Regions from separate parts of the Homo sapiens genome. Here regions 2, 3, 4, 5, 6 and 7 are each linked to region 1. The links are contacts of gene promoters, found by promoter capture Hi-C in blood cells and fetal thymus (Javierre and others, 2016). All regions are on one chromosome and are shown on one strand. Each heading gives the region's core, a stretch centred on a gene start or on the middle of the fragment in contact. The rest is flanking DNA. Distances are from core to core; before and after follow the strand shown.

Region 1 (4,004 bases), core at 384-2,883:
CTATCACACATTTAATCAGGAATCAGATTTATTTAAAAATCTGTGTCTCTAATGGAGCCTCAAAATTTTATTTTAAATACAATTTTGCTACTTTGCAGCTTCTCTGGTGAGAAAGAAAAAAAGATGACATCCAACAAAAGACTTATCACTTAAAACTTAAAAATATTTTAAAATGGAACTCCTGGTTTTTCGTGTACACATCTTCTTTAACGTTTTACTGAAACACATCACAAATTGCTAGAAATTGTTATCAAGCAAAATATACCAGTTTTTTGTACTCTATTTTTTTCCAATCAACTGCATATTTCACAATCAGCAAAACCATGAAATTACAATGAAATATAAAATTCACGTGAGCTTTGTTTTTTAATAGCCCCATAAAGACAGATAATAAAAGCACAATTATAGCTGAAAGTCTGCCGAAAAAAAACTAATTCTGATGTTTGCCCTGTAGATTTTCTTTCCCTTCAGTTCAAAAGGTATAGAGAATTGCACCATCTTTATACTTCGAATTGCAATATAAATCCATTTTTAAAAACACAGGCATATTAGGGCCAAAGTTGATTAATTTAAGGTTTTGTCTTTCTGCCTACTTATAGCTTGCCTTCAGTCACTTCACTTTTCTGACTAAAATGTATCCATTCACAATTATCAGAGTTGTTGAACCTCCCACCCTCTCCCACCAGAGTCAAAATTACACAGGTTTGCTCTGGCTGAGGTAGAATGAAATAAAACTACAAAGACAGACCGAGAACTTCCTGCATTCTAGGTATTAGTCTAAAAAAGTCCACTTCTCACATCACACAAATCTCACAAATTAGCCACTGGATGTTTGATCAGTTCTGCATTCAACAAATGAAGTAGGAGAGTGACAATGTAGTAACTTGCCCAGGCCACATAGCTACTTAATTTGCAGGAAAATGGACGTTATATTAATATTTACTAGCAACTTGCTTAGTAGGCTTTTTAGAATTAAATAGATGAATAAACGCAAAGCACTTCGACCAGTGGCTCGCGTAAACAAATCAACATTTGACATTGAAAATGAGAAAACCTACAAAGTTAGTGACTTGCCCAAGGTCACACTAGTGAGGAGTGGAGGGTCGGGAACCTGAGCAGTGCTCACACTCTCCGCTCTGCCTCCCTGTACCAAGTTGCAAGCAGGGTTCAGAGCTAGTCCCAGAAAGCCCTATACATGTCCAAGATCGCATGGGGCACTCCAACGTTTGAAAACTTGGCTAAATCAGATTCCAGGGGGCAGTCACCTTGAATTCTGCGGAGCTGTAGAGCCTGTCGGTAGCCCAGGACTCTGGAGCAGCCCCAAGGGTCGGCGCGGACCGGGGCCCCGGGGCCACCAGAAGCGCGGCCCCAGTGGCTCGTGGCGCGAGAGCGCGTGCGCACCCCCAGCCCCGACCCACGAGGGTCCACATGACCCGGGCGGCGGAGGCGTCAGGAGAGGGTACCCACACGCAACAGCAGCATAGCCCGTTTTTTTTCGAAGGTACCCCCCGTAGGATCCGGTGGACAGGACTCAAACAGATCCTGTGAAGCGAAGACAATGAACCCCGGGGAGCTCTGCCCAAGTACCAGATCCGGAAGCAACCCGAAGCGGCGGCGCAGCTTGCCGACGTCTGCACGCCGCACGCTGTCGTGACATCAGCGCGTCTTGGCGCCGGGTAGTGGAGTGGTCACGTGAGTGGAGGCTTTCGATTGACTCCCTAAAACGCAGGGTGTAGACAGAGTACATATTAGCTTATATTGTCTGCTGAGTGCTGTGCCAATTCCTTTGCATTGTCTCTTTCTTACTACTGCCCTGTGGTGTGTGTACTGTCAGTTCCCCCAAACTACCTCTGGAAATCCGGACCGAGTGACTTGCCCAGGAGCTCACAGGTGGGGAGCTGTGGAGCCTGGAGTGCCGCCCAGGCAGTCTGATTCCCGAACCAGGAGCCGAGGTCTTAGTCCAGGGACTTAAAGATGCTATTATTAGCACAACGTTGAGACTTAGCCTTCTACCTAATGGCAAAATAATAATGGCACTTTTAAAATCTGGAGGTCGAAATGTATTCCCCATGTTGTCAGTGACAGAGCTAATCTTGAAGTGCATCTGAAAGGAAACGGGCCATAACATTGATTGCAATACTGAATCCAGGAAGGTTTTGGCAAGAAGTAAAGGTGGGAAAAAGTTCCATGCTGGACCCCCAATGTTTCCATCGTCATCAAGTTACCACTTCATGGAATGAGCTCTGACGAAGTAAGAATGGGGGATAAAACAGGTGATAGGAGGATTGCATCCAGTGTTTGTCTCCCACTATTTCTCTTGCGCTTTTCTGGAATATCCAGAATTTGGTGCGAAGGAGGGAGATGACAGCTGTGTTCAGTTCATCATTGTGACTGAAGACAGAATCATTCGTATTGTTTCCAGAGCCTTTGAAAGTTTCTTCATTTGGAGGATTTCTTAGGATCAAGAATTCTGTACCAGACTCAGTTCTTTCTTGGATTTTTTTTTCCCCCCTGAGATGGTGTCTCGCTCTGTCGCCCAGGCTGGAGTACAGTAGCGCTATCTCGGCTCACTGCAACCTCCGCCTCCTGGGCTCAAGCGATTCTCCTGCCTCAGTCTCCTGAGTAGCTGGGATTACAGGCGCGCGCCAGCAATCATGGCTAATTTTTGTATTTTTAGTAGAGACGGGGTTTCACCATGTTGGTCACGCTGATCTCGAACTCCTGACCTCGTGATCTGCCCACCTCGGCCTCCCAAAGTGTTGCGATTACAGGCGTGAGCCACCGCGCCTGGCCCTTTCTTGGAACTTTTATGAATTAAAACAGTACTTGATAGACGACTAATTCTGTCACACTTGTAAGAGAATGAATTTAACAACTATCTTGAAGTAAACACAATAATTTATATTCAATGTTGCCCAGACTTCCATAATTTGCACAATTACCCTCATTAATTTTCACCATATCCTGTCAAAGATAAAGGCAGACACCAGTTAAAGTGGTGAAGACAGATTTTTATTATAGTGATATACTAATGCAATCGGGAATAAGATCCAGAATGAACTAAACTACAATTTGTCCAGAGGCGACTGTATTTTAAAAGGAGAATGCGGGAGTAGGGAAAGAGAACAACTGGGCTTGATCAAAGTCAGGGAAACGGAAATTTACAAAAAACAATGGCGGAAGAATGGTCCATTTGAAATCCATCTGGGTTGTAAACTGTTGCTTATGGAAATAAGGCTCCTACCCTTCCCGCAGACACTAGGAAATGAGTGCTACTTTCACATGTTGGCTGGAACAAATAAATTATTTTGTCAGTCTTGAGCTTTCTCAGACAGAAATTTAAGGGGGCTTCATCTTAGAGATGCAGCCTTGAGCTGTTATAAACTATATGAGTTTGTTCAAGTCTTTTAATGTGTGGGCAAACCGGTAGGGGAAGGATGTGGATGAAATCATTTGTGCTGAGGGTCTGTAGTTTTTATAGGCAAGTTTGAGGCTTTGCTGATAAGAGGGCTTAGAAGAGTCAGGCTAGAGTTTGGTCAAGAATCTTTGTCAATCCTCATACCGATATTATGTACTTTATATTTTTCTTTAACTTACCTTTATATGTAAATGAATTCTTTTTAAAAGAAAACGTAGATACCATTAATGGAGAAAGCATGATGAGCTGTCATAAGAGTAACAGTAAATATAACTGTAGTGAATAAAAAATGTGATTCAATTGTAGGTTTGGTCTGTCTGGATTACAAAAGGGAGATTAGCAGATATTAGAAAAGAATTTAAAAATATTAGCCTCAAACTGAGATTTTTCTCTTTGACCTAGCAAGAAGCATTTAAATAGGGTTGAAAGAAAAACTTTATCTGAATAACACAGTATCCTTGATACCATGTCTGTATCTATCTTGGTGCCTCCACAGGAATTTGTCCCACACTTTAGAAAACTGCAGTATCTTATAAGGCTGACATTATGTTTCCCAGCCTACAAATGGAAAAACATATTTGTTAGA
Region 2 (4,004 bases), core at 432-2,931, 3.7 Mb before region 1:
AGCCAGTCACAAAACATCGCAGATTGTATGATACCATTGATATGGAATGTCTAGAATAGGCAAATCTGAGACAAGTTGATCAGTGGTTGCCTGGGGATAGATGAGGGGGTGGAGAGAAGGAATGGGAAATGACTACTAATGAGCACAGGGTTTCTTTTCAGTATGCTGAAAATACTATAAAACTAAATTATGGTGATGGTTGTACTATTCTGTGAATACGTTAAAAACTACTGAACACTGAAAACCACAGTACACTTTATTTCTTATCTATTTATGTTTTTTTTAATTTTTTTTGGAGACAGAGTCTCACTTCATCACCCAAGCTAGAGTGTAGTGGTACAATCTCAGCTCACAGCAACCTCTGTCTCCCAGGTTCAAGTGATTCTCATGCCTCAGGCTCCTGAGTAGCTGGAATTACAAGCGTGCACACCACCATGCTGGCTAATGTTTGTATTTTTGGTAGAGACCAGGTTTTCCCAAGTTGGCAGGCTGGTCTCAAACTCCTGACCTCAAGTAATCCACCCACTTCAGCCTCCCAAAGTGCTGGGATTACAAGCATGAGCCACCCTGCCCAGCCCACAGTACACTTTAAACGTGTGCATTTTATGGTATATAAATAACATCTTGATAAAGCTGTCAAAATGTGATAGGAATAAACTGGCCTTTCAAAATGCCACTTTTTCCCTTAGAACAATCATTACAAGGGAACTAACCACTATTTTTTTTTTTTTTTGAGACAGAGTCTCGCTCTGCCACCCAGGCTGGAATGCAATGGCGCGATCTCAGCTCACTGCAACCTCCGCCTCCCAGGTTCAAGCGATTCTCCTGCCTCAGCCTCCTGAGTAGCTGGGATTATAGGTGCGCACTACCATGCCCAGCTAATTTTTGTATTTTTAGTAGAGACGGGGTTTCACCACGTTGGTCAGGCTGGTCTCGAACTCCTGACCTCGTGATCCACCCACCTCAGCCTCTCAAAGTGCTGGGATTACAGGCGTAAGCCACCGTGCCCGGCCTAACCACTATTAAATACAATTTAAGTATACTGTTAAATACTGAGTTATTAGAAATGTAATTAAGAATAAAGTTATATAAAGCTTACAATAAGAAGTCATATTTTGGCCCATATGTCACACATACCTGTATAATATGGTGATTAAAGACAACTAAGAATATAACTATTTCTTTAAGTGTAATAACTTTCAGTAATATGGAAATGTACAAATATAAGAAATGATAATAACCTCCCTTTCTCTACCAAAATTACACTCCAAAATTATTTACAATTTGGAGTATGTCTCTCCAGACTTTTCTTCACATTGTTAATATATTTCTTCACATAGACATATATTAATAAGTAAATAATGGGGAGAGGAAGGGAGACAGGAGTTACTTTGCTGAATCTGTGGTAACCGCAGTAATCACTTTTCATATTGTAGCCAGCTGAAAGTAGGCTACTGAAGCCAAGGACAAAAATGATTTAAATTTAAGATAAAAATAAAAGTTATATTAAAAGCATTATTGAAATAAATTTCTTTAGATGCAAATTTTTTACAGGCTGAGGAAAATAATCAGACTTTTACTACCCCTAAATCATCCCCCTCTACCTATTCACTGAGTAAGGTACATTCAGTGCAAAAGAACAGACACTGTCTTCACAACGTTCAATGCAGAATCCCCAACACAGACACTTATACATGTTCAAATATTTGGATCTGAATTCACACTGAATAAAAAAGCAATATGAAAAGAGATAAAGGGAGGATACCAAAGTAAATTAAAGTGGCCACTTTGAGATTGTAATTTGTTTCCATTTTAATAATTCTATCATTAAAAAAACTTTAATAAAAGTTTATCTTATTATCTTTAGGCTGGGCGTGGTGGCTCATGCCTGTAATCCCAGCACTTTGGGAGGCTGAGGCAGGCGGATCACCCGAGGTCAGGAGTTCAAGACCAACCTGGCCAACATTGTGAAAATCCATCTCTAGTAAAAATACAAAAATTAGCCAGTCGTGGCTGCGGGAGCCTGTAATCCCAGCTACTCAGGAGGCTGAGGCAGAAGAATCGCTTGAACCCGGGAGGAGGAGGTTGTAGTGAGCTGAGATCACACCATTGCACTCCAGCCTGGACGACAAGAGTGAAACTCCATCTCAAAAAAAAATAAAAATAAATAAAAAAATACAAGTATCTTTGGTTTTACTCACAAGCAAATATAATTTAATAATTCTAAACCATTAGGATACATTGCTTATAATGCTTTAACAAGCTTTGTTGGGCCGCGCGCAGTGGCTCACGCCTGTAATCCCAGCACTCTGGGAGACTGAGGCAGGCGGATCACCTGAGGTCAGGAGTTCGAGACCAGCCTCAACATGGAGAAACCCCATCTCTACTAAAAATACAAAATTAGCCGGGCATGGTGGTGCACGCCTGTAATTTCAGCTACTCGGGAGGCTGAGGCAGGAGAATTGCTTGAACCTGGGAGGCGGAGGTTGTGGTGAGCCAAGATCGCGCCATTGCACTCCAGCATGGGCAACAAGAGTGAAACTCCGTCTCAAAAAAAAAAAAAGCTTTGTTAGTCAATGTAACAGTAATTATTATAATTTATACTGTATCAAATGCTCATTACATGTCAGGCACTGCTTCAGTGTTTTAAATATAGTAACTCTTTCAATCTTCATTACAAAATTATAAGATATGTATTATTATAATCTCCATTCTACAGATGAGGTCACTGAGACAAGTGAGGTAAGTAACTTGTCCAAGGTGGCACAGCTATTAAATGGCAAAACCAAAAGTGCTCCAGAAGCAGTACTCTTAAATATTATACTTTACTGCCTAATAGCATTGCTAAAAAAGAATATAAAAGATTCCTAAGTTAAAGACTTTAATAGGGCCAGGCGTGGTGGCTCACACCTGTAATTCCAATACTGTGGAAGGCTGAGGTGGGAGGGTCACTTGAGGCCAGGAGTTCAAGACCAACTTGGGCAACATAGTGAGACACTGTCTCTACAAAAGTTTTTTAAAAACATCAGTGGGGCCGGGTGCGGTGGCTCATGCCTGTAATCCCAGCACTTTGGAAGGCCAAGTCGGGCGGAACACCTGAGGTTGGGAGTACAAGACCAGCCTGACCAACATGGAGAAACCTTGTCTCTACCAAAAATGCAAAATTAGCCGGGCGTGGTGGTGCATGCCTGTAGTCCCAGCTACTCAGGTGGCTGAGGCAGGAGAATCACCTGAACCCGGGAAGTGGAAGTGGAGGCTGCGGTGAGTCGAAATCATGCCATTGCACTCCAGCCTGGGCAACAAGCGCAAAACTCCATCTTGGGGGAAAAAAATAAAAGTCACCTGAGCACGGTGGCAGGTGCCTATAGTCCCAGCTACTTGGGAGGCTGAGGTGGGAGGACTGCTTGAGCCCAGGAGTTCAAGGCTGCAGTGAGCTATGACTGTGCCACTGCGCTCCAGCCTGGGCAACAGAGAGAAACCCTGTCTCTTGAAACAGGAGGAAAAAAAAAAAGACTTAAATATAATCATTTTAACAGCCACAATGTTCCCTGCTCTCTTAAGCCTTACCAACTATAAAATATAAGGTTTCAATCAATCCCACCTACTACTACAACCAAAAATCACAATTAAGTTGAAGAAAAACATATTCAGTTCAAATATACGGCGTCTTTTTGAACTTCTAGATTGTTCATAGTGCTATTTTATTATTATATTTGGCCCATCAGCTAACTAAAAGATATATAATACTATACTTATATAAATATATATATAATATGTTCTTCTGGTTTTTAGAGGAATATTAAAAATATTATCAATAATACTAATAATTATTAGCAAGGCAAACTCATTAATAAAGTTTTAGAACAGAGCTATTTTCAAGCACTGAAGTGACATTAGTTGCAGGGTAGAATATATGTGTATATAAACAGTATGTGTGACAGAACACAACACAACACAGTGAACCCAAAAAACAGTGCAAAGCAAGCAGAGTAAACTGAAGATAA
Region 3 (4,004 bases), core at 515-3,014, 3.7 Mb before region 1:
AACTGCACAAAACTTAGTTCTCAACAAGACTATAACTGCCTTATGAACAGGGATCAACACTTAAGAATCACCAGAATCTCCTACAACATCATATAAGAACTGTTTCTTGATTTAAGTAACTAGGCTTAAGAGTAACAAATAGCAGCTTGTTTTAGACAGTTTACTATGTGCCAGATCCAGCGCTAAATGCATACATAATTATCTTACTAAATTTTCATAACTCTATAGAGGTAAGTGCTATTATTTTCTCCATCAAATACAAGAAGAAAGTGAGCCTCAGAGTAACTTGCTCAAGGTCATACTGCTAGTAAGTGGCAAAACCAGGGGCGAACCCAGGAAAGCTCTTAACTACCTCAGAACACTGCAAAGTTCCAGCCCTGCAATACCAGAGTCTATGAATGATTTCGATTTCACTGTTAGAAGTTTTAATTTCAATAGAGCAGAGACATTTTAGCTAAAAGTTAAAACTTTAAGAAAAATGAATTAAGACAAATAATTGCCCACACACATCTTTATAATAAAACGAGAGGAAAAGCCTCCCATGTCCTATTTATGAAAGTGATATTAAGGTGGGGGGGCCACAATTTCATCAAGAAGTGGCTTATGACAATATAGCTTTGGTTTAAATTTTTAAATAGGACTCTTTTTCTCTGCCCCTAGAAGGACGTGGAAATGAAAGATGGATGTGATAACTGTCAATTCAGAGCTCTGCAAAACGCCAGACTCAATTCTTGTTTTAGAAAATAAGAGCCAGGGCTCGTTCCACCCTTGACTCTTCACACAGAGTAACAAAAAAAAAAAAAAAAAAAAAAAAGCAGCACCATCCTCTGCCCTCTCTTCACACAAAGCAAGGTTTACCCCACTACCCAAAGGGGAGTGCTGATTCATACGGTCTCCCCATCCCCGCCAGAAATGGGTCCCAAACACCAACCGCTGCATAGACGTAGACGACTCTGGTCTGCCCCTGACCCCCACACCTGGTGATACCTCATCAAGCAGACCCCTCTCCTACATCCAGAATGCCCAGGGCCACCATCCGAAAGCCAGTATCTTACACAAAGCAGGATCCCTGCCTACAAAGCAGTTTCCCACCTCCGACTCCTCCCCAGGCGAACAGCCCTTCTCAAGCTGCCCCAACCCACAGACCCCAATAGGGTCCAGCACTCAGAAGGTCCACAATCCAAAGGACAACGAGCTACAACCCTGTTACTTGCGCACGCCTCGAACCCCCAACTCCAGCTGACGTTCCCTCTGCCAAAGCAAGAAAACCACAAGTCGCCACAGGAGAGCGGACCCGGCTACACAAAGCGAGGCGCCCGACCAGAGGGACCCTCAGAGGACGCTCTCCGCCCCCGGGCCCGTCCCCGCCCAGCTCCTGCCCGGCGCCTCGCGCTCACCAGCTCTCCTCCTCCTCCTCCCAGCCTGACAGGCGCTCCAGCTCGTCGGGCCGCAGCGGCTCCACCTCGTCCAGCAAGCCGCCCTCGCCCGCCGCTAGCAAGGAGGTGGCGTCCCGCAGCTCTTCGCTACTCGTCCGCCTCGGGCCCGACCCGGGCCCGCCGCCCGACTTGGCGCTGAGGCCCAAGGGGAAGCCCCGAGGAGACGCCGCGCCGGAGGAGGGAATGGACGCGCCGGCCCGAACCGGGCTGCCGGGCCCAAGGGAGCCGGCGCCCTGCACGGCCCCCGAGCGGCTCCTCAGCTGTTCGTTCTGCTTCTCCAGCTTCTTCACCAGCTCCTGCAGCTTCCGCACCTCCTGGTCCGCGTTCACGTTGGAGTTAACGTCCTCCATCCCGGCCCCGCCGCCGCCGCCGCCTCCGCCGCCCGCTCGCTCTCGCAGCGACAGGGAAAGAGACGGAGGAAAGAGGCGTCGCCGCCGCTCACTCTAGCCGAGGCGCCGGCATATAGCAGGACCAGGCCCCACCGCCAGGGTCCCCCCACCTCGGGTTCCAAAGCGCCGCTGGCCCCAGCCGAACTGCCTCATCTGCGCCGGCTCCGGGATTGGGGGAGGCGGCGCCAATATCCGGCCCCTGCCGCCATCTTCCCTCCGTCCCTCCGCCCCCCGCGGGCCGGCCCAGTCGGTGACCTCAGAGCGTCGGGGGTGGACGCGGCCGCCGGCGGGCGCTGAGAGGACCCGGCGCCAGCTCGCGGCGGGGCGGGGCCACGGACGGGGCCTATGGGGCGGGGCCGGTGCTTGAGGGGCGGGGATTAGGCCGGAAGGGGCGTGTCGGCGGATGTGGGACGCGGCCGGGCTGGCTAGGGAGGGTCCCTGCAGAACGGGAGGCCAGCAGAAGGCTCGCGGCGGGCGGGGCTGAGGTGGCTAACAAGGTCCTCGAACAGCCTCGCCTGTTGGTCTGGGCGTGTGGGCGTGTTCTCCACCCCTTACAGGGAGTGTGGGACCCGCGGGCCAGTCTCGCCCTTGTTCCGGGCCGGATCTCGAGTGGGCGCTCAGCCCGGCGGTGGAGAGACAGTTTACTTTGTTCAGCAAATATTTAATCGATGCCGACTTTTAATTGGAGATTGTCTCGGCTGGCAGGAGCCTCTAGACTGCCTGTGTCCTGTTTCTTCCCCTGAAAATAAGAAACCCCAGTTTCAGACAGTTAAGAGAGGTCTAAGGTCAAAATAATCATAATTTCTTGAGTGCTTCCTACTGGCCAGACAGTGTGCTAAGCACTTTTAAAGGCATTATCTCATCGGTTAAAACATAGTTTTCCCGACTTAAAGTTTACAGCACACTGGGGCGGAAGCGGGGGATAGTAAACCGCTTCTCTACTCCCTTTCTCCGTTTATTGACTCACACTCTGTTCTTTGGATCACTTCCTTCGGAAAAAGTTCCTCGTAGTGTGTCTTGACTTTTTTAAAAGTTGTATGTTAAAAGTAGTTAAACACGCTGACAGATACTGAAGAATGAAGAAAATTGTAAGAATGTGAAGTCTGCCTTTAGAATGCGGCAGGAAACCTAAACAAAACTTAAATGCTTTGTTTTGATCACATTATCACAGTCGTTGGTCTTCAGAGGTCAATTGTGAACGGCTTTGGCTTGTGTTTGCAGCTTTTCTTCAGTTGCCGCCTCCACCCTTAGTTTAATAACAATGATCCAGTCCTGTTACACCTGAGTGTGGACTCATGCCATGACTGACTTGCTTCTACCCTTTAGCTTTTCTAGTGCCATATTCTCCGCCTGCCATATCTGATTCTTTTCTTAAATCCCATACTCTCTCATTCAGGAAACCTCTTCCCAACAATTCCACAAAGATCTAATTATTCTGCATATTCTAGCACTACGTGATCAATAGTTCTCAATAGGTGTTTGCACTTTTTTTTAAATTGCTTTTTTCTCTAAGAATTATTTTTCGTTTGTTTTTGTCTGTTTACTTGATTTAAGGACACTTCATTTTTGCTTCCCATGTCTAGTACACTGACACAGTGGACACTCAATACTTGGTTTGTTGAAAGTTAAGTAGACTATAAGTTCTACTTAAAACCACGTAGCTATTTATTCGTAGCAAAAAACGTATTTGTGTTAAAAGTTTGCTGGCTAACTATAAGTCGAGTATTTTTCTAGCTATACAGACCTAGTCAAAGGATGTGATTGTTTGCTAACATAATTGTCAAGTAATATATATTATCTGTGTAATGCTCATCTAAATATCATTGCTCTTTCTGACCAGTCTGAACTTGTTGCCGGAGGGTTAAAAATCATGACTACTTCACGTGTAGCAGTTTTCACTTGCATTCAATGCTTTGTAAAATAGATTCCAACTAGTCAGTTTCTATAAGGCGAACCCTTCAAATATACTCCTTGAAAAGAACAGTTCACCGGACATTATGAAGTTAGCACTAATGTTTGTGGGGCAGGAAAAGCTGTTGTAGTGTGGAACAATGAATTAAGAATCAGAAAGCCTGATGTCGGGTTCTAGCTGTAGCATAAATGCACTTGACCTTGATCGCTGCTCTCTAATCTCTGGTCCTTAGTTTACTTTAGAATGCGTGAGTTGGAGGATCTCCAG
Region 4 (4,004 bases), core at 574-3,073, 3.5 Mb before region 1:
CCTTATTGCAAATACAACTTTCTGACCTGCCTATTCATTTTTTTCAAATACACAATGGAAATACTTCCATAGGGGTAAAAACAACTTATTAAAGGGTGTTTCCACTCTCTGCAAATGTTGACTAGGTTACACTAAATTTAATATAAATAGAACTTACATTTTCCTACTTAAATGATAGAATTTTTAAACTAATATACCATCATAATGTTGTTTTCCAGGCTGCCAGAAATTGTCTAGTAAGTGAGGCGGGAGTTGTAAAAGTATCTGATTTTGGAATGGCCAGGTATGTCCAAGTATACGTGGTTTTAGGTGATGTTTGCATTTTTTTGGTGGAATTAATAAGTGTGGGAATAATTTGCACTGATGAAGCAGAAAGGAAATCTTGTTAACTGGTTCTCAGATTAAATTAAGTATATATTGTGATGGTAGTAATTCTCTCCACTAGGTGGTAGTATAGCCTGTTAAATACACTGTATTTCCTGGTGTGGATTAGATTTCTAGAATCTTTTGTTTTCACAAAAACATATTTGGTGGTGAGGTTCTTAGTATGTCCATGTCTGCAGTGTTTTTCTTCTCTTAATTTTTATAATTTAATAGTATTATAAAATACCTTTTAAAGGTATTTAGTTTATTTTTTCTCTCTTCTCCCTCCGTCTATCCATTCATTCATCCATACATCCACCCATAAAAAATCAGGTGCCTGCTCTGTGCCAGGCATAATGATAAGCTGAACCATATAGAGAATAAGACCTACAAGTCCTTGCCCGCATGCAGCTTACATTGAGGAAGAGGGTGAATCAGAAGACCTGATAAAGTTACATGATCGAGCATGGTCGATACTGGTAAACTGTGGCTGTCAGTCTGACCCAAACCTCATTTGGGTTTCACATTTTTAAATGGATGAAAAAAATGAAAAGAATATTATGACATGTAAAAAAAAATCTGAAATTCCAATGTTGCTGTCCATAAAAATAGCGTGATTGAGACACAGCCTCGCTCATTCATTTAGGTGTTACCTGTGACTGCTTTCCTGCTACAGATGCAGAGTCAAGTAGTTGTCACGGGGACTGTATGGCCTGCCAGATCTGAAATATGTGTTATCTGGCCCTTTACATAAAAGTTGACTGATCCCTGTAATAGAGATAATTTGGGGTGGTGCTGAATGATGATGCAGGGCAAGAGTGAGGGTGGCTACTTGATCTGATGTTCAGGATGACCTCTTTGTGATAGGCAGATTTGACTGGAGACGAAAAGGTAGGAAGTAGCCAGTGTAGGTGAAAATAAAAGGATAAACTATTTCAGGTAGGAAGAAAAAGTGAAAAAGCTTGAAGTCTGGGACACGTCTGGCCTGCTCAAGGAACGGAAAAAGCGCCAGGGTAGCTGGCCAACGGGCAGCGCCAGGAATGCTCATAAATGCAGGCAAAGACCAGGCCATGTAGGGCCAAGTTTAACTCCTAAGGAAACTCAGGCCCAGGGAGATTAGAAAACTGTTACTGTCAGAAATGGGACCAGAACTTCCAACTCTTAGGATATTAATTACCCAATGCTCTTTATTTGCTTTTATATACAGATACTATATATTTGACAGGCTGTCTGCCGCTTTCATCTGTTCAATCTTCATATGTTAGGCTTTCAGAAAATCTGCACTTTTGTATCAACCACTCAAAAACCTCTTTATACCCTAAATTCAGACTCCACTGGCTGACAGTTTGATCCAGCCCACAGTGGCATTGTCTGCCAGCCAGCAGCTGGCTTTGTGCCGAGTCACCATCTTTGTCTACATAGCAAAGGATGTTTGTGCAATTCTTCGAAAATTTTCTCATGGAACCTTTTAGAAATTAATGGTATATTCACACACAATACAGAGATACATTCCTTTTGTAAATATGTGCTGCCCACCTTACAGAAAGGGCTGAAGTCTTTTCATCTACCAACCCTAATCAAGGATTCTCCCCTAAAGTTAGCTACTGTTACCAGTTTTTGTATGTTCTTCCAGAAGGACATTGTATGTTCACATAGAAAAATTATATAGTATTGTTTTGAGTGTATGTATGTATGTGGGGATGTTATGTATAAATACATACTCCACCATTTACATGTGGCATTTTGTGTTGTGTTTTTGTTTTTGTTTTTTTGCATTTGCTATTTTCATATGCTGTAGTTTTAAATTGTGCTCTGTGGAATTGGAGGCCTGAAAGCCTGTGTGTTTCTAGATGCTTTATACCACTTCCTCTGGAGCAGCTCTGCTTTAGATTTTTTACATATGGGGCCTTTGGGTAAAATTTTATTTAAAGAACAAAATTGCTTACAAAGAAAAGCTTGCAAACTATTTTATGATACCTTGTCTCTACTGCCTTATAAAAAGAAAGAAAAACAGAAAAATGAAAGTGCAGATGGTAACGTGGTGATGGATCCATCTCATGCACTTAAATTAAGCTGAGAGGAAGTTGGAAATCACCAGGTGTGGCCACTGAGGTGAACATTTAGCTTCAACCGGATGCTTGTTGGACTTCAGTCAACTGTGTTTTTGATTGCAAGGGGAAAAAAATGAAAGAGCAAGTAGAAAAAACAGATTGTTCTTCAGAGGTGTAAACCCATGGTGTGTCTTACTCTAGGTATGTTCTGGATGATCAGTACACAAGTTCTTCTGGTGCTAAGTTTCCTGTGAAGTGGTGTCCACCTGAAGTGTTTAATTACAGCCGCTTCAGCAGCAAATCAGATGTCTGGTCATTTGGTAAGATCCATGTTTCCTCATGTCCGTCCGCCCTGAGGAGAAAGTGGATACATCCATTTGGTAATCCTTATCCTTTTCCAGGTGTTTTAATGTGGGAAGTATTCACGGAAGGCAGAATGCCTTTTGAAAAATACACCAATTATGAAGTGGTAACCATGGTTACTCGAGGCCACCGACTCTACCAGCCGAAGTTGGCGTCCAACTATGTGTATGAGGTGATGCTGAGATGTTGGCAGGAGGTATAGATTTTTTGTGTGCTTTCTTTTTGAATCTCTTAGGGATTGGGCTTGGTAGATGGATAACATGCAGTCTTTATAGCCTAGTGAGGTGGTGCATCTTTATAGTGATTTCAAGCTCTAGGTAGGAAGCCAACCCTCTCAACTCAAGTTCTGAATAACGGGAAGAAGAATGTAAAGATGTGGAAAATGCTAATAACTACCTCGATACATTCAGGCTGCTTCCTCACTTCCAAGTGGGACTCCTTCCATGGTTGCCTGAGATAGGGACTTGGGGAATAAGCCTGGATAAGTAGCTCTTTTTTCATTGGTTCACTTGTAGAGTTGAAGTATTATTTTTTTACCAGAGTTGGTTTCTTTCTCTAAACCTCAACTTTCCGAGGTCTTTGAAAGTATTGAAATGTTACCTCCTAAAAGAGATTAGATACCAAATGACTTCTGAAAGACAGTAACATTAGCTCACATGTATTATGTACCAGGCACTATACTTAGTGTTTTGGATTTAGTTCTCAAAACAACACTTTGAGGTGGAGATACTTTGACTGTAGCCACTCTGTAGATGAGAAGATTAAGGGTCATGAGGTTGCTGCTTGCCTGGGGTCACTTAGCTACAGAACAGTATAGGCCTGTCTGATTCCAAAGCCCAGAGTCTCAACCACTTGCTGTACTGCCTCCCAAGAGCATTGATTGGGATGGGCAGAGACATTCTGGGCAGGAAGTGGTGCTAAAGGGAGAGAGAACAGCTTGAGCAAAGGTAAGGAGGTGGTTATAAACACAGTGTGCACAACAGTGGAGACAGTGGCCCTATTTAACAGACAGCCCATGTGAGGGATTTTGTGGGGAACAAGATTGGGTAACAAGAGGGTCGGGAAGTGGCAGATTATAGAGGCTCCTACAAATTTGCAGGACTTGATTTCACAGGCAGTAAAAAGATCTATCAGGGTCTTGAAGAGAGACATGAAAGCAGTGTCTTAGAAACGTTAGCCTAGCAGCAGTACATGCAGGGTAAATTAGGGTAGAGACAAGACCCCTTT
Region 5 (4,004 bases), core at 730-3,229, 3.4 Mb before region 1:
GGAATTGGTGAAAGCTAAAGTAGTCAGGGTGGGGTCACTTATGGAAGACCTTGAAAGTGGGGGAAGATATAATGCTGAGGATGAAGAGCAGTTGGCTGAAGCAGGCTTTTAGGGAAATGGGTATATGGGGTGAATCGAAGGAGACAGCTCAGAGCAGAGACTCTAGATTCAGGTTCAAATCCTGGCTCCCCGCTTACTAGCCCTTTGTTGGTAAGGAGTAACCTCTCTGTGATTCAGATTCCTCATCTGTAAAACGGCATCTACTTCACAGAGTCATTGTGAGGACTAAGCGAATTAATGCAAAATTACAGGTACGAGTTGATGAGGGCTTAGCCTTGCTTATTGGGAGGGTGTAGAAGAAGGAAAAAGCCAAGCCCTGTGAACAGACTGATAGATTGATGGCAGATCAAATACAAAGGGTGGGGCTCAGGAAGAATCTAAGTTTTCTGTGGTGGACTCATTCACAGACATGGGGAGATTGGAAAGGGGAAGCAACAGAATGGTTTTCTTACTAAGGATAGTGAGGAAGATGATAATTCTGTTGGGGAAAAGGTAAGACAGAGGCCAAATTGGGGAAATAAAAATCCTTTTGCATCTATCACTAAAAGTTATGTACATGTAGAAAGCTATCAATCATAGAATGGGTACCTAACTATCAAATCACAGACCTATTTGATTTTCTGGGTTTTTCCTTTTCTTTATATAAGTTTTGAAATATTTCAAGCATACAGAAAAAAGTAGAAAATAACATAACAGGCTAGTGATTACTCAAGGATAAAGTGGCCATTATATACACTTTTTGGCTTTGATGATATTAAATAATTTGTTTATATTAAAACAGGAGGCTATATAGATGGTCAGAGCTCACCTTCCTGGACCATTTTCCAATGGCTTCCAGGCTGAGAACTGATTGCTCTGCTTGGCCTGTGGCCAAGTTGTTCTCTAGTATCTATGAAGCCTCCCTACTACATAGACTCCCAAGGTCTTATCTTCCTTTATTTCAAGGACTTTTATGACTGAGTTATTCCTCTCTGGTCACACTGTTCACCACTTCGGATTGAACCTGCTTGTTCTGTTCCAAATACCATTTGCAAATTTCCACTAGGAATGAATCAAGACAGGTACATCCTCTGAGCAAGCTTATAATTTTGTGCTCTTTCAAACATATTCATTCATTCATTCATTCACTGAACAAATATTTATTGAGTATTCATTGTGTCAAAAAGTGTTGTAGCTTCTTGGGATATAATAATTGTGAACAAAATAGACAAAGGTGCTTGTTTACATACTAGTGAGGTAGACAAACAGCAAAGAAAAAAAGGTAAATAAATTGCACAGCATGTTAGAAGGTGAGAAATACACCAAAAAAGAAAGAAAAAGTAGAGCAGAGTGAGGAACCTCAAAAGTTAGGGAGTGCAGATGGCCGTAATGTCAAATCAGGGGGCTATTCACTTAGAAGATGAGATTTGAGCAAAGACTTGGAGGGATTGGAGGGAGTTAAGAAAGGAGGGAGGAGTGCTCTGGAAAAAACAAAAGCCAAGAATCTCTGGTGAGAGCAGGCCCTATGGCTCCAGCAGCAGCATTGCGGTGTGGCTGAGTGAGGTGAGCAGGAGCTTATTGCAGAGGAGATGAGAGGGAACAGGAGGCCAGATCATGGAGCATTTTATAGGCTCTTGTGGAACATGTAGCTATAACCCTGAGTGAAATGGGGAGCTATTGTGGGGTTCTCAGACAAGGAGTAACATGATCAGACTTAAGACAAATTAATTACTCTGGCTGCTGTGCTGAGAATAAAGCATAGTGGGAGGAGGAGAAGCAGGAAGAAGTTAGGAGGCTTTTGGTGTGAGCCAGGTGAGGTGATGGTGGCTTATCCATGGTGGTGATGGATGAGATGGGGAAAGCAATAAGTATGTGTGTGTGTGTTTGTGTTTTAAATTGTGTTGAAATATATATATCAAAAATTTACCATTTTAACCATATTTGAGTGTACAGTTCAGCAACATTAAGTACATTCACATTGTTATAAACCATAACCATTCTCTATCTCCAAAACTTTTTCATCATCCCAAATGGAAACTCTTGAATAAACAGCCTTCTGTATCCACAGGTTCCACATTGCTGGGTTCAACCAACTGTGGAACAAAAATATTTGAAAAAAAAAGGATGGTTGTGTCTGTATTGAACATGTACAGACATTTTTTTCTTGGTATTATTCCCTAAACAATATAGTGTAACAATGATTTACATAGCATTTACATTGTATTAGGTATTATAAGTAATCCAGAGATGATTTAAAGTATATGTGAGGAAGTGTGTAGGTTACATGCAAATATTATGTCATTTTATATAAGGATCTTAAGCATCTATGGATTTTGATATCTGTCGGAGGATCTGGAACCAATCTCCCATGGACACTGGGGAAGTCTGTATTTTTTAAAGACACAGTCAGCAAACTTTCTTGATAAATTGGCCTGTGTGTGAGAGAGAGAGAGGAGTCAAGGATGACTAAGATTATTTACCTGAGCAACTGGAAAGACGGAATTGCTTTTGACAAGATGGAGAAGGGTGATAGAGCCTGTTTGGGGAGGGAGGAAGAAAAAGAGTTCAGATTTCATCTCCTGTTTACTTGAAGTATCTACTAGACATCCAAGTGGAGAATTTGAGAATGCATTTGGGTAGGTGAGTCTGGAGTTAATTAGAACTGGGCTAGATGTGTGTATTTTGATGTCATCAGCTGATAGATAGTTTTTAAGCTGCAGGAGGGAATGGGATAATCAAAAGAGTGAATAAGACAAAGAAAAGAAGAAATCAAAAGCTTTGCGGGAAATCTAGCATTATTCAGAGGTCAGGGAGGTAGAGAACAAAGCAGCAAAGGAGACTGACAAGGAGCAAAGCCAAGGGATATGGTACCAATGCTGCCAAGAGAGAGGTTCAGTAAGATGAGGACTTAGAGTTGACCGTTGGATTTAGTGGTGCATGGGTCACTGGTGACCTTAACAAGAGCAGTTTTGTTTTTTTTTTCTAGAAGTGGTAGAGATGACAGCCTGACTGTAATGGAAGGAGAGCAGTTGGAGACAGCAAGTAAAGAGCCTTATTTCTAGGGCCGGAGGACTGGCTCATGCCTTTAATCCCAGGACTTTGGGAGGCCTAGGTGGGCAGATCACTTGAGATCAGGAGTTTGAGACCAGCCTAGCCAAAATGGTGAAACCCCATCTCTACTAAAAATACAAAAATTAGCCGGGCATGGTGACAGGTGTCTGTAATCCCAGGTACTCTGGAGGCTGAGGCAGGAGAATTGCTTGAACCTGGGAGCCGGAGATTGCAGTGAGCCAAGATGGCACCAATGCACTCCAGTCTCGGCGACAGAGCGAGACTTGGTCTCAACCAAAAAAAAAAAAAGAGACTTATTTCTGGATTTTACAATAAATAGAGAGCAAATCAATGAGGGAAATAAGATCACGCGTAGTTTGTTTTGTTTTTAACAGCTAAAGTAACTGCATATATATACGTATATATGTATTTTATATATACATACGTATATACGTATATATGTGTATATATACGTATATATGTATTTTAATAGCTGAAGTAACTGCATATATATACATATATACGTATATATGTGTGTATGTATATATACACATATACGTATATACATATATACGTATATATGTACATATATACGTATATATGTGTGTATGTATATATACACATATACGTATATACATATATATGCATATATACATATATACACATGTATATACATATGTATGTGTATGTATACGTATATTTGTGTACGTGTGTGTGTGTGTATATATATGCTGATGATCCAGTAGAGGGGGAAAAATGGTGATATAGGAGAAGGAGGGAGTATTTTTAAAATTTTGAATTTGAATACCTCCAAGTGGGCTTGGGCACAACATTTTGCCACAGTCTACACTCTATTCTGACCTACTTCATTCATTTATGTAACCTACATTTGGTTTTGCATCCTGTGGCCTGAA
Region 6 (4,004 bases), core at 652-3,151, 3.4 Mb before region 1:
AAGATACTACTATTACTACTACTACTACTAGCTATTCATTGCATAGACAAGTGTTTGAAGTGCTTTATGTGTATTAACTCACTTAATTTTCATAACAATCCTATACAGAAGCTAAAAAGAATTTAGTAGGCTCAATCATAGGTTTTATACTAGAGGTTGGTAATGAATAGAAAACAAAAAGACAAGAAAAGAACAGACAAAAATGTATATGCTTATCAAACACATTCATTTGGGATCATAATAAACTCAGAAAAATTAGATCCACATTCCATGAAATAGGAAAATTATTCCTGTTTCCACTATCAAAACTACAGGGTCTCCAAACAGAAGTATCCAGCAAACAATGCAAGAATTGTAGTGAGAGTTAAAATTTAACCAAAACACCATGCTTGTAAAAGTCCTCTGATAACTATGGTCATTAACCACTATGATGAGGAAAATAATTGACAGGACTCTGGCAATTTGTTCTGATGAGAGATTTAAAAAATCTTCTATGCTTCATTGCAGTGTTACAAATGTAAAACACATTTATGTTAGTAGGAAATCAAACTCACTGTGTCTTAGGTTTTTAAAATAATAATGTGACAGTCTATTTCCTATTTCTACTGTTATTTTATAGTCTTCTCAAGTTATTTTTGTGATTTCAGGCAAGAAAAAGTATTGTTCTCACTTTATGAATGAGTAAACTGAGCCTGAGTGACTTGACCAAAGCTTCCCAGGAGCCTCAGAAATAATTTGGGTTCATCTAGACTTTTAGAGCCCAGGTTGGTCTAGATTTGTGTGTTTGCTTTTAGATATCCATAGCCATATGTTTATTATGGTTTAAGTTTATCTTGGTCTTAAAATACCTACAGAAGCCAAGTTCCCTGTTGCTCACATACCTTATGAGAACACTCAAAGCACCCAGAGGGGTGACCAAGGTGGCAGGTGCAAAAGCATAAGCAGCAAAATTTGCAGCCTCTCCTGCTCCCACTAGAAAGCAAGCAGAGATATTGATATAAAAAATGGGCTTACTTGTCAGAAGAGAAAAACAAATGACTCATGCAAAGCAGTGGACTTTTAACCCAAATACATGGGAAGATCTAGCTAAAAAGAATGATGTAACATGTTTTATAGCAGGTAGGAGATAATTAATATTAAGAGATGCAGACAAACTGTAATACCAGGTGATAAACTCAAAAGATGCAAAAAATGGTGACAGATGAGTACTCATTTTAAATGGCTTTCAATAGAAATTTTTAGCTACTTCAATATTGAAGACATATTTGGTGACTCTAATGAAATCTAGTAGAGGTAGCTTTGTAGTAAGCAGAGAATTATTTCACTTGCTCAAGAATACCTACAGCTTTGTAGGTTACCCACAGAAACCAAAACCAGCTTGGAAAATTAGAATGGTTAAATCTGGTGTGTAGGTAGGGAATAGCCAGAAATACCTGCCATAGGCCCATGAAGTTAGATATCCCTCTATTGTAAGTGATCTATAAGCAAGTAACAGTATCTCAGTAGCTTAACGAGATCCAGGCAGCTGTTTTAAAGTCATGATATGCTCCTGAATGTAATCTTTTTCTTATCTGAGGAACTCTAGACTTGCATGATATAGTGTGCTATAAATAACTTCTAGAGTGAGAGAAATCCCTTCAAGAGCTGGGCTCTGGTACTGGGGCCAAGTTATTCTCACAGAACACAGTGGGAAACTTGCCCACAGAATGTAGTATTTCATGCTGGCAACTACACCAGGCAAATGCTTATTGTAGAGAGAGAAAGGAACACCAGCATGATTTTTTTCTTTTTCCCTTTGTCTGGCTGCTACGCTACATCCCCCCAAATCTATAGGAGTATTCACCATTAGGAAAACATCATTAAACAAATCTAAATTTACAGAACAGAATAATTAAGACATTGCTATCATCGAAAGAATCACGGCAAGGCCGGGCATGGTGACTCATGACTGTAATCCCAGCACTTTGGGAGGCAGAGGGGAGAAGATCACTTGAGGTCAGGCGTTCGAGATCAGCCTGGCCAACATGGTGAAACCCTATCTCTACTAAAAATACAAAAACTAACCGGGTGTGGTGGCAAGCGTTTTTAATCCCAGCTACTCTGGAGGCTGAGGCAGGAGAATCGTTTGAATCTGGGAGGCGGAGGTTGCAGTGAACCGAGATCACGCCACTGCACTCCAGCCTGGACGACAAGAGCGAGACTCTGTCTAAAAAAAACCGTGGCAGTTTTCTTGGAATATTAAGGTTTCCTTGGATACTTTATATTATTTATATTTTTATCTTTATAGATAGCTTTCCAGGAAAACAACGACTTCATGATTAAAGTACTGTATATATATCACTTACTTAATCTCTAATGTATGCTTTTCTCTCTTCAATACTGACATAAACTTTTTTACACGGTGAAAACAAAATTGCAAATGTAGTCACATAATACTCTCCTCATATTTTCATTATAAAGTATGGGTAGAGGGTGGGGAGATGCAAGTAAGACAGAAAAAGAGAAAGATCCAAATACCTATCTGGAATCTTCCCAGACAGCCCTTGTCAATTTTTATTCAAATAAAGAAAATGGATGTAAAAGCACCCTAAAAACTGAAGGGGTGGCCGGGCGTGGTGGCTCACGCCTGTAATCACAGCACTTCTGAAGGCCGAGGTGGGTGACCTGAGGTCAGGAGTTCGAGACCAGCCTGGCCAACATGGTGAGAACTTGTCTCTACTAAAAATACAAAAATTAGCTGGGTGTGGTGGTGTGTGCCTGTAATCCCAGGTACTCGGGAGGCTGAGGCAGGAGAATCGCTTGAAACTGGGATGCAGAGGCTGCAGTGGGCCGAGATCCTGCCAGTGCACTCCAGCCTGGGCCACAGAGCAGGACTCCATCTCAAAAAAAACAAAACAAAAAACAAAAAAACCCCAAAAAAATCCACAATAAACAAGAACTGAAGGGGCTATACATATTTAAATTCTCTTTATTAATCATCCTTTTAGATTCCACCATTTATTAAAGAAAAGGTACCCAGTTCCTTCTCATAACAGGATCTTACAAATACTGAAATGTGTTGCTTGGTTTGGGGAAATTCAGGGAAGCTTTAAGACTCCTGGCTACAGAGGGAATTTATGATGCCCTTTTTGAGGGGAGCCTCCGCTTTGGGATTTAAGAAATTTCACTTAGTGGGGAGACTGAAGTCAGCAAAAGTGGCTGAGGGAGATGAACACTGCCTTCTATTTGGACATCACATTAGCATTTAGAAAGTGCTTTCAGATCCTGTAAAGTCTCGTTTAATCCTCACAGCAGGTCTGGGAGGAAGGAGAGTGCTGACACCCTTCATTTCTTCTCCATTTGTTCAGTACCAAGCAGCCACAGAAGCCTTTCACTTATCCGTGTTGTCCTGGCAAGGAAACTGTACTCTTTCTTGAGAAAATATGCAGCTACAATAGTTGTTCTAATTAGGAGGTGGGAAAATATGAAAGAAAAGTACTTTTCTCTATTGTTATGGTGAAGAAAATACAAGAAGTCTGTGGTTAAAATGTAATATTTCAAAGGTCAACTTTTTCCCTTGCATTCCAGGACAGTACTGAGAGCACAGGGGGTGGGAAATAAGAGTAAAAATTAATTTATTTATATATAATAGTATATATAGGACAATATATTGACTAACACAAAAATGTTTAGACTTAAATTCCATCCTTGTTCCATTCTTGACAGGAAGATTAACCAATTATGAAAAATTTCATGTAATCTATTTACTATCTTACAAATAAACAGTATTCTCAGTATTAAAAACTTACTTGACAGCAATCCTACCCACCAGAGCCATTCCTTCAGGTAAGAATGTCCACCTTGTCCTAAAATACAAAAAGTAAAAATTAACAAAAAATGGGTTCTACACTGGAGGAAGGTTTGAAGAATTAACTTCTAGGAAGCGTACTGGATTATGGTTAGAAAAGTTAAGTCAGTAAATCTAAAGTCTCTTAGCTTATTTACTTGGTCATTTCCAAAGCTCT
Region 7 (4,004 bases), core at 382-2,881, 3.3 Mb before region 1:
AGAATTACATTTTAAGTCTGTCTCTTGATTTCCTGACTGGTTAGAGATGAACGAATGCATTTTTCATCAATGTATCCCTTTGGGATTCTGAAAATAGCAATTTACCACAAAATTACTCACCAGCCTGACAATGTTCGTTCTTAAAAGAGTTGATATTGGATTTCTTGTCAGATTGCCAATTTCTCCTCTTTCCAATTAGATTCATTTTTGTTTTATCTGGGCTGAGCTTCAGCCAGTCTTGGACTTGGTCCAATGAGCTACTTGGGTTATTTCTTCAGAGAGCAGGGAGCCTGTTTACCTGGGTTTCTCACAAAGATTCCAACTTCTCCTCTTTCCAATCAGGTTCATTTTTGTTTTATCTGGGCTGAGCTTCAGACAACCTTGGACTTGGTCCAAAGAGCTGCTTGAGTTATTTCTTCAGAGAGCAGGGAGCCTGTTTCCTGGATTTGTCACAAAGACTCATGATGCCAAGGAGTGCAGGTACTTTGGTGGCACCAAAGTCCATGGTGTTCCATGATCTCCCCCAGTGGTATCATTGCTTACTCTCCTCAGAAAGAATGACAGATGAGCCACCCAGTGGCACTCAAGGGATGAACATTTGCCCACTGTTATCAGGGGGTCTCTAGGATAGGAATATAATTTTCCCCACTCATTTTAAAATTTAATAAATCACTTCCAGCTCCTCACTTTACAAAAAAACAAAACAAAACAAAACAAAAAAACCCTGATAATTAATTGATCTACATTACCAGTATTTCCATTGTTCCATTCACATGTAATTTCACAATGCCTAAAGAGGACAAATACCGGTGGATGGGCTTTACTCAGTATGGATAAACTCCACTGGATAAATTCAGTGTGAATAAATTCCACTGGAGTACACTTAGGGTAGAATAATTCAAATTATACTTTAAAAATGATTGGCTCTAAGAAATCAAATGCAATTGAGACCTACATAAGGAGTTTTGTAGCCAGTAAGAAATTGCAAAAATATGCCAAAGAGGTTTGGTTTCATTAGAAATAACTTTTAAGAAATATTTTCTTGCATTTGTAGAAAATGACGAGGCTTCTGAGCATAGATAGTTGAACGAATTTCTGCTTCGTGAACCCTGAATATATTTTATCAGAAGGTCTAGAGAATAGTTGCCATATGTGAATAAATAGTGATGGGGAGGGGACATGGGACTCTAGTCCAGAAACACAAAGGCTAAGAGAAATATGGACCCCAGACCTGAAGTTTCCAGTTTCCAAAAGAGTCTCATGCTCAAAACACAGCCCTGAACAAAGAGCCACTGCACCTGAAGGATCCATACCATATGGACATGTGGGCTCTGCACTCTGATGACAATAACTAGAAGCATTCTCCAGTGCAGTGGCGATCACATTAGATCTTAGTGACTTTCCACTACAGTATCCAGGATGGGGGCCGGGCTGAAGAATGTCTGAGATAAGTATGTCACGATGGACAAACACTACAAGTTCCTATGGAAAGTTTACAACTTTCACTTGTGCACAAGTTTCTAGATCCTCTTTTCTACTATCTTCCACTCCACCTCCCACGTGTTATCACTTTTTCCTTCTCTATGGGATAGTCCCCATAGTGCACAATGCCTCAAATATTAATACCTGATGCTTGACCCCATTTCTGTTTCCTGTTAACACCCTTTTTCTTTGTTCTCCTTTCTTGTAAAACTATTTTGTAGCATTTGTTCTTGTAGAATTTTTTTCTTATTGTTCTTTCTTGAATCTGACAGAATTAAGACTTGCTACTACCACTCCACTGAAACCTCTCATCAAGGTCACCAGTGACCCCTATATGGCTAAATCTAATGGTCAGTTCTCAGTCCAAGACTTATTAGACCACTTGGTAACACTTGACAGAAATGATCACTCCCTCTTTCTTGAAACACTTTCTTCACTTGGCTTTTGGTCAGTTCTCTGCCTGAACTTCCATCTCCCTTGCTTTCTCCTAATCGTCAGGTCTTTAAATATCAAAGTATTGTGTAGCCATGATATTCACTCCATAAGTGAGCTCATATATCTTATGACACTTTATAATGTCTATGTGTTGAAGACTGCCAAATTTGTATCTCCACCCTCTCCTCTGAACTCCAGACTTGCATATTCAACTACATACTTGATATATCCTTTGGTGAGAACTTGATGTGCCCTAAACAGAACTCATGATATTGTCCTCAAATCCGTTCCTTCCCTAATATTCTCCATCTTAGTAAATGGCACCTACCACTTCTTCAGGTGAAAAACTTTGGGTCATCTTTTCTTGCCTCTTAGTCTCATACCTAATATCTAATCTGTCAGTAAATGTTGTCAACTCAATCTTCAAAATATAACCTGAATCTGACCATAACTCACCTTTTCTACTCCTAGTCCAAACCACCACCTTTCACCTAAACAAGTACAGTAGCCTCTTAACAGGTCTCTTTAATTTCACTCTTGCTTCCCTTCCAGCAATGGTCCATTTCCCTGTAGTAACCACTGTGATCATTTAAAAACATTATTAGATCATGTAACTCCCTTGCCTCAGCTTGCTAAAAATTAAATAAAAAATTCCCACCATAGTCCTACCTATTAAAGGACTTTTGATTACCTCTCCAGTTTAATTGCCTACAACTCTTCTGCCTGCTCATTCTCTTTCAGTGAGATCAGCCTGCCTGCTGTTCCTGAAATACACCAAATATATTACTTTTTCTTGGTCCTTATACTTTCCATTTCCTCATCTGGGGAAATTCTTCCCCCAGTGTCCAGTGGCTTATGCTGTCCCTTTATTCAGGTCTCTGTTCAAATGTCACCCTATTACAGTGGTTTCTGGAACTACCTGATTTAAATTCAAACCGTCTTCACCTTATCTGCCTGCACAGATCATAATTTGACATTATATGTTTATTATCTGTCTTCTCTACTAAAACGAAAGTTCCATGAGTACAGGTCCTTTATTTTATGTATTGCTCATTTCCAGTGCCTGGAAAGTGCCTGGGATATAATAGGGGATCAATAAACGTTTCTTGATTTAATTAATAAACAGGTAAATTTTCCAACCCATCCTGGAAAGATAAAACTCAAGAGCTCAAATTAAGTTGATTGAAAGACTAGAATTACTGAAGCATTACTATTTGCACATCTGAATTTGTAAACCGGGGGTCAGACCTACTACAATTTTAATTCTAGTTGGCCATTCTACCACAAGGCCCTCCCCATCTCAAAGCATCCTATCTCTATATTAGTTTTCCTGAAAAATATTGCTTTTATGATGTTACCTCCCTTTTCTTAAACCTCATAATGGTTATCTACCATCAACATTGAGACCAAACTTTTCTACTTCTGTTTTCAAGGTCTTTGCTAACCCTATTTATCACCTTGGCTGTGGGATTCAACAGAATTTTCTCCATTCTGATCCCAAGCACGGGCTATGCTTATTTTCATATTTAAACTTTGACTCATGACATCCCTACCACTCAGAATGCCTCCTTCCATTCAAATCTCACCTTTCCCTTAATCATTTTCTTAGTTCTCAGCAACTTCATGACCTCTTTATCCTTACCTTTGTACTTTACATACAGTGAACCCTTCCCATCTCTGAGTATGTCTGTCCAGTGCCTGACAATACTGAATATCTGTTAGACTCCATTACTTATTGATTGACAAATTATTTAGCTGAGTATTTGAAAAAATGTATATTAAATATGGTGAGTGCTTAGTTTATTTTCTCTGTTATGAAGGTTATTCTAAAAAAGTAAAATGATAGTCCAGTTTTGTTCAAATTACTTTATTTTAATGAAATTCATATTATACAGTACTTTTTTAATCATTAGAGTATTACTAAGTAGTGCAAAAAAGGATTCAGTCCCCTAAAGTTAGGGCTGGCTAGGAAAGTCAATGTGATAATTTAATTTTTCTAATTTTCCTCTGCCCTACCCATGGCAGAACAGCTTTCTTATTTTGCCTGGTAAATTTGCACTTCATGATATTTTTTCTTTTTCCTTTTT

What was found. The method cuts DNA at HindIII sites, captures the fragments that hold promoters and counts their contacts. A CHiCAGO score of 5 or more calls a contact.
Region 2: a fragment that was not itself captured here is called in contact with the fragment with the promoter of GUF1 in region 1 in 1 of 17 cell types (monocytes); the score reaches 9.0 in monocytes.
Region 3: a fragment that was not itself captured here is called in contact with the fragment with the promoter of GUF1 in region 1 in 3 of 17 cell types (monocytes, total CD8 T cells and total B cells); the score reaches 8.8 in monocytes.
Region 4: a fragment that was not itself captured here is called in contact with the fragment with the promoter of GUF1 in region 1 in 1 of 17 cell types (total CD4 T cells); the score reaches 6.3 in total CD4 T cells.
Region 5: a fragment that was not itself captured here is called in contact with the fragment with the promoter of GUF1 in region 1 in 1 of 17 cell types (naive CD8 T cells); the score reaches 5.4 in naive CD8 T cells.
Region 6: a fragment that was not itself captured here is called in contact with the fragment with the promoter of GUF1 in region 1 in 1 of 17 cell types (naive CD8 T cells); the score reaches 7.6 in naive CD8 T cells.
Region 7: a fragment that was not itself captured here is called in contact with the fragment with the promoter of GUF1 in region 1 in 8 of 17 cell types (total B cells, non-activated CD4 T cells, fetal thymus and 5 more); the score reaches 11.5 in total B cells.

What each region holds. Positions count from the first base shown.
Region 1 is chr4:44,676,049-44,680,052 of GRCh38, reverse strand. It overlaps GUF1 (GTP binding elongation factor GUF1), which reads right to left and starts at 1,633. Exons shown (of 17, transcript NM_021927.3): 1 at 1,266-1,633. The coding sequence starts at 1,430. RefSeq lists a silencer at 1,295-1,454 and an enhancer at 1,526-2,414. The HindIII fragment of the contact is 9,672 bases long and covers 1-4,004 here.
Region 2 is chr4:48,356,883-48,360,886 of GRCh38, reverse strand. All of the region lies in intron 1 of SLAIN2 (SLAIN motif family member 2), which reads right to left. Among named protein-coding and RNA genes, the nearest start is that of SLAIN2, 17 kb to the right of the region's middle. The HindIII fragment of the contact is 1,169 bases long and covers 1,097-2,265 here.
Region 3 is chr4:48,339,522-48,343,525 of GRCh38, reverse strand. SLAIN2 (SLAIN motif family member 2) reads right to left here and starts at 1,997. Exons shown (of 8, transcript NM_020846.2): 1 at 1,398-1,997. The coding sequence starts at 1,786. RefSeq lists silencers at 1,517-1,826, 1,967-2,306 and enhancers at 1,137-2,050, 2,457-2,576. The HindIII fragment of the contact is 7,807 bases long and covers 1-4,004 here.
Region 4 is chr4:48,137,634-48,141,637 of GRCh38, reverse strand. TEC (tec protein tyrosine kinase) reads left to right here. Exons shown (of 18, transcript NM_003215.3): 15 at 219-283; 16 at 2,616-2,734; 17 at 2,816-2,973. Among named protein-coding and RNA genes, the nearest start is that of TXK, 5.4 kb to the right of the region's middle. The HindIII fragment of the contact is 994 bases long and covers 1,327-2,320 here.
Region 5 is chr4:48,119,887-48,123,890 of GRCh38, reverse strand. All of the region lies in intron 1 of TXK (TXK tyrosine kinase), which reads left to right. Among named protein-coding and RNA genes, the nearest start is that of TXK, 12 kb to the left of the region's middle. The HindIII fragment of the contact is 1,676 bases long and covers 1,142-2,817 here.
Region 6 is chr4:48,029,961-48,033,964 of GRCh38, reverse strand. NIPAL1 (NIPA like domain containing 1) reads right to left here. Exons shown (of 6, transcript NM_207330.3): 3 at 3,789-3,845; 4 at 882-972. Among named protein-coding and RNA genes, the nearest start is that of NIPAL1, 15 kb to the right of the region's middle. The HindIII fragment of the contact is 2,375 bases long and covers 714-3,088 here.
Region 7 is chr4:47,927,448-47,931,451 of GRCh38, reverse strand. The region is part of intron 1 of LOC101927157 (a long non-coding RNA gene); the gene reads right to left. Among named protein-coding and RNA genes, the nearest start is that of NFXL1, 15 kb to the right of the region's middle. The HindIII fragment of the contact is 7,796 bases long and covers 1-4,004 here.